Linked DNA regions of Homo sapiens: region 2 is linked to region 1. The links are contacts of gene promoters, found by promoter capture Hi-C in blood cells and fetal thymus (Javierre and others, 2016). All regions are on one chromosome and are shown on one strand. The core of a region is centred on a gene start or on the middle of the fragment in contact, and the rest is flanking DNA. Distances in the headings are between cores, read along the strand shown.

Region 1 (3,977 bases), core at 567-3,066:
AGACCCCCCTGAAGCTGCCATAGTGTGAGCACAGTCATGGTGGAGTAAGGGACGACTAGGGCATTGCTCAGATATCTGTAGATAATGACACATTTTGCTTTGGATTGAGACTGTCTCCAAAGCTGTTAGCTTCATGATTTGTTTGCATGATTATAATTATGCAAACCAGATTGGAAAAAATAATTGAGGAGACATGTAGCTTTGTTTCCTTCAGCATTCTTTTACTGCAAATTAAATACCTTGAATAGTAGTTAAGACAGGATTGGAAACTTGGCGGGGAAGATGCAGAAGGGTGAATAGCATTTATTGAGTTTCTGCTATGAACTAGGAACTGTGTTTAGCACATGTGTGTATTGTTCTGTTTTCACAGTAGCCATATTCTTATTATTCTTGTTCACTTTTTATAGATGAGGAAACTGAGGCTTGAAGAGGATTATGGATTATCTGAGGTCATTTAACTAAGATACAAGAAAATTGGGATTTGACCTCAAACTTATGTTTTTTACATTATTTTGTGATAACTTGGTACTAGGATCTGAACCACCTGGTTCTGTAATTTATGATGCCTGTGGAGAGTGCATGTTCATAGTAGCCAGAAGACAGTAACATGGCAAGGGGGAAAGGAAAAGGAATTATCTTTGTCTCACCCCAAACAATAATGATACTGACATTTTATTGTGCACGGTGGTTTTCAAAACACTTCATACGAATTTCCCATTTTATAGCTGGGACCACAGAGCCTCAGGGTTTCATTCAAGGCCTCACAGCCAATAAATAGCAAAACTGGGACTCAAACCCAGAATTTCTGACTAAATTCAGTTTTATTACTCCAAGAACCTCTCCCACATAGTTGGCCACATGGACAGAGGAAGTGGTTGAGTTTAAGTGTGAGTGCTCTGTGCAGGCTGGATGGTCTTCTTATCCTCAAGCATCTGTGGATGTCATTGAAGAGCCTGACTTCCTAATCACTTCCCAGGATCACCAGGCAATACGTGATTACTGACTGACTGAATCAATATACACTTGGATCTTGGTTTGCAAACTTTCACTTGGTGTCCCGCATCACACAGGTCCAGAAACAGCGAAACTTTTCTCATACCTCTCAACCTCTGGGTGTTCATGTAGACAAGGGACAGTTGATGGTTATACAAACCATCATGGTTATAAAAAATCTCTATTCGGTGCCTAGTTATTGTGTATTTTTGGTGTGGCATGGGAAGAAAAGAGCCAAGATATTTTGAAAATCGACACCTCTTTTGCAGTATCCGAGGCCAATTACTTTCTGTAAGAGGAGGTCGATTTCCAATTAGCATTTAAGGTCATTTAAGACCTTTGCAGTCTCCCCTGCACTAGTTGGGGCTCTTTCTGGGAAAGAGGGAAACTACAAGAGAACTACAAGGCTGGCATTGAGGGGCTCTTGCAGTCTCTAAACCCACCATCCCTTTCATTGTTGAACTGGGGTGGTGAGCCTGCACAAGCATGGGTGGTAGCTGACTTCCCTTGGGCAGGTCCAGAACAGGGAGCAGCATTCTGCAGAAGGTCCTTTTCCAGATTGAGAAACCCAAACCCTGATCTCCTCTTTTGATGATTTTACAAAAATCAAATTGCATGACAGATGCCCAGATAAACAGAAGTTTGCAATCAAAGCAAGTTCTGGGATGGAGCTGATTAGTAGATTTTTAATGGCTATTAGCTTGATAATCACGCACCAGGAATAGCTCCCAGGCAGACCAAACCCACGTATAAGTGGATCCACACCCATGTACACAACACCTAGTTGGCAGGTATATAAGGGGACCCTGAAAGCCTCCCAGCAGCACAGTTGAGTCTCCAGCCTTGACTCTTCTCAAGAGCCTGTGACTTTCCTCCCTGGACAAAGGCATCATGAGTTGTCAGATCTCTTGCAAATCTCGAGGAAGAGGAGGAGGTGGAGGAGGATTCCGGGGCTTCAGCAGCGGCTCAGCTGTGGTGTCTGGTGGAAGCCGGAGATCAACTTCCAGCTTCTCCTGCTTGAGCCGCCATGGTGGTGGTGGCGGGGGCTTCGGTGGAGGCGGCTTTGGCAGTCGGAGTCTTGTTGGCCTTGGAGGGACCAAGAGCATCTCCATTAGTGTGGCTGGAGGAGGTGGTGGCTTTGGCGCCGCTGGTGGATTTGGTGGCAGAGGAGGTGGTTTTGGAGGCGGCAGCAGCTTTGGAGGTGGCAGCGGCTTCAGTGGTGGTGGTTTCGGTGGAGGCGGCTTTGGTGGAGGCCGCTTTGGAGGTTTTGGGGGCCCTGGTGGTGTTGGAGGTTTAGGGGGTCCTGGTGGCTTTGGGCCTGGAGGATACCCTGGTGGCATCCACGAAGTCTCTGTCAACCAGAGCCTCCTGCAGCCTCTCAACGTGAAAGTTGACCCAGAGATCCAGAATGTGAAGGCCCAAGAGCGTGAGCAGATCAAAACTCTCAACAACAAATTTGCCTCCTTCATTGACAAGGTGACTCTGGAGAAGACGGCTCCCACTGATGCTCAGGCCACTTCACTTCCAGAGCCAACCAAAAAGAAAATGGCACAGATTTGTATTTCTTAGGAGCCAGTGGTGTACCGCAGTAGCCTGGGTCATTTGCGGTTTCCAGATGGAAAAGACGCCAGCTTTGTGGGTTACATTTCCCATAACAGCCTGCACTTAGGAAGCATTTGTCCCTTTGACCTTATTGTTACAGTCCATATAAATAATATTTATGGAAAATTCTGAAAACCATAAAAAATGGATATAGGCAAGTATTGAACTGATCCTTGGGACAGGCCACTGGAGCAGCAGGTTTTGGAAGCCATCGTCTTCTGAGATAGTGTTTCCTTCCTTAGCAGTGATTACTAAACTCTGGGAAGCTGAACCTGAAATATCTGCTTGGGAATGCAGGAAATTCCTGCCTTCAAGAGAAGCGTTCTCAGTTTTGTGATCCATAAAGTCTTTATTGGTGTCACTTCGGAGTGTTACTGGCTTTTCTCCTATTTCAAGGCAGACGAACCTGTCTTGGTTTATCTGCCTTGAAATAGGCAGGGATTTACAAGGCTCTTAAAAATCAGGCTGAGGAGCCCTGCCCTCTGGGACTCTCATACTCAGCACCCTTGCGAGCAGTGCCAGCAGATGGCTGCTTTCGGTTTTCCCCAGAATTTATGGGATCTTGGCTGGAAATTCAACCAGGATGCGGGGAGGGAAATGGTCTAGAGTATTGGGAGCAGCTGCAAACAAACCAGTGAGCAGTGAAGCAGCAAAGAGTCTCCTCTGCGTGGAGAGAGCCGGATGTAGCATTAGGAGTCTGTGGGACTTTCCAGGGGCGAAAGCAGGGAGCTCAGAAGCTCTGCCAGTCATGACTCGGCATCCAGCCTCAGACACTTCTCGAGGTCCTGAAGCAGCACCTGAGCTGCCCCTGGCCAGCGTGGCTTGCTTGGTGTGAAGGATGATCTAGAACTCATGTGCTCTCCTTCTGGTCATGGCAGGTGCGGTTCTTGGAGCAGCAGAACCAGGTGTTACAGACCAAATGGGAGCTGCTACAACAAATGAATGTTGGCACCCGCCCCATCAACCTGGAGCCCATCTTCCAGGGGTATATCGACAGCCTCAAGAGATATCTGGATGGGCTCACTGCAGAAAGAACATCACAGAATTCAGAGCTGAATAACATGCAGGATCTTGTGGAGGATTATAAGAAGAAGTAGGTGGCAGAGTGAAACGCTGAGTGGAGATAAACATTGCACTGAGCCATTTGATCACTCCCTGGAAAGCCATTCATCTCCCAGTTGCATTTGTGGTGGTAATGGGGAGAGGCATATGTATCTTTGTTGATTATTTGTGAGGAAGACAGTGAGACTTTAGAGATCATTTTTGTCTTTTGTATGTTTGAGAGTTAGTTTATAAAAATATATCTTTAGTTTGGAAATCTTAGTTTCAATTTAGATATTTAAAAAGTGTGTAATATTCCCAGAGAATGGGGCATTTGGGGT
Region 2 (3,977 bases), core at 689-3,188, 330 kb before region 1:
ACTCATCAAGCTCCTTCTGTATACCAGAGCATTTAGCCAGAGCCTCGGAAGGTGAGGGAGAGATCGCTGATGAGGAGGTGGGAGGGAGCTAAGGGAGGAGTGTGTGTGTGGAGTGAATGGTGTGGCTGGAGGCTGGTCAGCAGGGGAGACTGCAAAAAGAGGAGCTGGAACACAGAGTCAGGGCACTGGCCATGGAGTCTGGATGCTTCCTGGGTCACGGAAGGGTTTTAAGTAGGTGAGGGATATTATGAGATCTAGTTTTATCTATTTATTATTTATTTATATATTTTTTAGAGGTGGTCTTGCTCTGTTGCCCAGGCTGGTCTCAAACTTCTGGGCTCAAGAGATTCTCCCACCTCAGTCTCCCAAGTAGCTGGGACCACTGGGCCTGGCACACATTTATTTTTATTTTTATTTATTTATTTTTTTGAGATGGAGTCTTGCTCTGTCACCCAGGCTGGAGAGTAGTGGCACCATCTTGGTTCACTGCACCCTCTGCCTCTTGGGTTCAAGTGATTCTCCTGCCTCAGCCTCCTGAGTAGCTGGGACTATGGGCACCTGCCACCATGCCCGGCTAATTTTTTTTTTTTTTTTGGTAGAGATGGGGTTTTGCCACATTGGCCAGGCTGGTTTTGAACTCCTGACCTCAGGTGATCCGCCCACTTTGGCTGGGATTACAGGTGTGAGCCACCAAGCCCGGCTGAGATTTATTTTTAAAGAAGACCATGTTGGCTGGTGTGTGGAGGAAGGCTGAGTGGTTACTGGTGGCCATGAGAAGACTTTCTGTTAGGAAGATGTTGCAGTGATAGTACAGAGGACAGATGCCTACAGCCTGGATGTGGGGTGTGGATGGGGAGAAAGGAATAGATTTGGACTTACTGTGGAAGTAGGGTTATTAATTTATTAGATCCATAGGGTAGACCAAGAGAGAAGGAGGTGTCAAATATGATTCCCAGGTTTCTGGCACAAGCAATTAGATGGATGGTGTGTCATTTACTAAGATGAACAAGAATTATGAAGCTGGTGGGAGCTAAGATCAATAATCCAGTTTTGAACAGGTTAAATTTGAGATGCCTAAGAGTCATCTAAAAAGAGGCATTAAGTAGAATATTCCATAGGCTGCTCTGGAGCTCACAAGAAAGGTCTGGTTGGACATCACAATCTGGAAGTCTTTGGTCTATAGAAGATGCAATTAAAACCAGGGCAAGGTATGAGATGACTCAAGAAAATAGTCCCTATTAATAAGAGAATAGGGGCCAGGACCCAGCCCTGAGGAACATCAACTTTATATCAGGTCAATTTATAGATCAGAAACATCAAGTTACAGACCATGTCAAGGAGGGTGAGTGGGGAAAAGGGACCGAGAAACTATAACTAGAGAAAAGCCTGGCACGAGGTGTCTGGGAGACTAGGAAGGAGAGTGTTTCAAGAAGGAGGGAGAGGCTGGGTGCTGTGGCTCATGCCTGTAATCCCAGCACTTTGGGAGGCCGAGGCAGGTGGATCACCTGAGGTCAGGAGTTCGAGACCAGCCTGGCTAACATGGTGAAACCCTGTCTCTACTAAAAATACAAAAAATTAGCCAGGTGTGGTGGCACACGCCTATAATCCCAGCTACTTGGAAGGCTGAGGCAAGAGAATCGCTTGAACCTGGGAGATGGAGGTTGCAGTGAGCCAAGATCATGCCACTGGACTCCAGCTTGGGCAACAAGAGTGAAACTCCATCTCAAAAAAAAAAAAAAAAAAAAAAGAAGGAGGGAGCATGCAGCTGCTGGAAGCTAAGTGGTCAAGGAACAAAAGGAATGTCAAGTGTCCATCGATTTCAACAACATGGAGGTCTCTGGGAACCTTGGCTAGTGCAGCTTCTGAGGAGCCATACGAGCTGAGCCAGCCTGGAGGGGCTGAAGAGTGAACTGGGTGAGGAAGGGGAAAGCCTGTGTGTAGACCTCTTTTGAGAATAATGTAAGGCCAGATGCAGTGACTCAAGCCTGTAACCCCAGCACTTTGGGAAGCCGAGGCAAGTGGATCACCTGAGGTCAGGAGTTTGAGACCAGCCTGACCAACATGATAAAACCCCATCTCCACTAAAAATACAAAATTAGCCAGGTGTGGTGGCGCATGCCTATAATCCCAGCTACTTGGGAGGCAGAGGCAGGAGAATCACTTGAACCCTGGAAGTGGAGGTTGCAGTGAGCCGAGATCGCGCCACTGCACTCCAGCCTGGGCAACAAGAGCAAAACTCTGTCTCAAACAACAACAACAACAACAACAACAACAACAACAAAACAACAACAAAACGAGAGAGAATGATGTAAGATGCTTAGCTATGAGAAGGAACAGAGAGCTGGCCAGGCGCAGTGGCTCACGCCTGTAATCCCAGCACTTTGGAAGGCTGAGGCGGGTGGATCACCTGAGGTCAGGAGTTCGAGACCAGCCTGGCCAATGTGGTGAAACACCATCTCTAGTAAAAATACAAAAATTAGCTGGGTGTGGTGGTGGGCACCTGTAATCCCAGCTACTCGTGAGGCTGAGGTAGGAGAATCACTTGAACCTGGGAGGCAGAGGCTGCAGTGAGCTGAGATCACACCATTGCACTCCTGCCTGGGTGACAGAGTGAGATTCCGTCTCAAAAAAAAAAAAAAAAAAAAAAGAGAGAAGGAACAGAGAGCTGCAAGGGAAGGTGGTCCAGGGAGCTTGTTTTCAGGTGGGCAACCCTGGAATTGTTGAGGGAGAGAAGAGAGAAGAGAGGGGGAGAAATCTCATGTGGGGGGGAGGGGAAAGGGTCAGCGGGTGGTATGAAGAGGGACTGGGTTCCAGACCTCTGCCCATGCTTTTTCCTCTACCTGTGATGCCCTTTCTGACCTCACTGCCTGCTCACCCTACAAGACAAGACTTTGTCTCTACCCACTCACAGCATGTTTAATAGCGGATCCTGGCTCTTACCATATGCTACTGAAGACAGAGACTATGACAGAAGTATAAGTCCCCCAGCACTGTGTCTGACACACATTTGGAGGACAGCCCGGGGCAGGGTGGGAGGTGAACGGTGAAGTGTCAGCACCCTGCCTGGACATTATGGTGGTGGAGTGAGGGCGATGTTTGAGGGGGTGAATGGCAGACTGACTGAGAGAATCTCAGCTGTTCCTCTCAGTGGCTCTTTCTAATACTTTTTAATTTTGTTTGTTTGTTTGTTTGTTTGTTTCCTGCAGGAGTGGAGCCCTGACAGTTCCCAGACCCTCTCACATACTCTCTCAAGGAATCCAGCTTAATGGATCAGCCCACTGTAGACAAAAAAACAGAAAACAGAAAATGGATCCAGAACCCAGACTCCCATCAGTCCCACCACATAGCCAGCAGGAGGTCAGGGGTGAGGGGGGCAGGCTGGGGTTTAGTGGGGGCCTGCATTCCTTTCTCTCTGCACGGCGGCAGGGCTTCTCAAGTATTCTCTAATTAAGATGAGAAGCAGAAGCAGGGGCTCTCTGGAATGTAAACAGCAGATAAGATCAGGCACCCTCCTCCCTGGGAAACTTCCATTTTCCTTCTTTTAGGATGGACACTGCATTCTTTCCCCGCTGCAGTCTTTGGCTCCCCAGTTCTTTCCATCCCCCCTCCCTCAGCCCTTGTCTCTGTCTTTGAGTCTCTGTCTGCATCCCTTATGGCTCCCTCATCTGGTACAGGGCTTGTGCATTGGAACCCAGAGGGGAACCTCTCATTTCATCAGTATATGGACATCTCCCAGGTTCAGGCTGGGAGTTTTTGACCCTTGCTATGGGCTTCTCTCTCCTGTCTCTTCTAGGAGGACAGAGCAGGCTCCATCATTGTACCAAGGCAATGTTCATTCAAATAAACAATGCCAGCCAACATGTGGGGCCAGGCACGCCAAGTACTAAAGGGACCATCTTGATGAGTGGTGCTCATAAGAGGTGTCAGAGGAGGAGACAGCATTGGCAGGCAGCCTGAGGGTGGCAGCCGAGTTACGG

The links. Contacts are between HindIII fragments. The CHiCAGO score rates a contact against its expected background, and 5 or more counts as called.
Region 2: a fragment that was not itself captured here is called in contact with the fragment with the promoter of KRT2 in region 1 in 6 of 17 cell types (naive CD8 T cells, non-activated CD4 T cells, naive CD4 T cells and 3 more); the score reaches 9.2 in naive CD8 T cells.

What each region holds. Positions count from the first base shown.
Region 1 is chr12:52,650,050-52,654,026 of GRCh38, reverse strand. It overlaps KRT2 (keratin 2), which reads left to right and starts at 1,816. Exons shown (of 9, transcript NM_000423.3): 1 at 1,816-2,469; 2 at 3,474-3,688. The coding sequence starts at 1,885. The HindIII fragment of the contact is 4,749 bases long and covers 1-3,977 here.
Region 2 is chr12:52,976,420-52,980,396 of GRCh38, reverse strand. No RefSeq gene overlaps it. Among named protein-coding and RNA genes, the nearest start is that of EIF4B, 28 kb to the left of the region's middle. The HindIII fragment of the contact is 5,548 bases long and covers 1-3,977 here.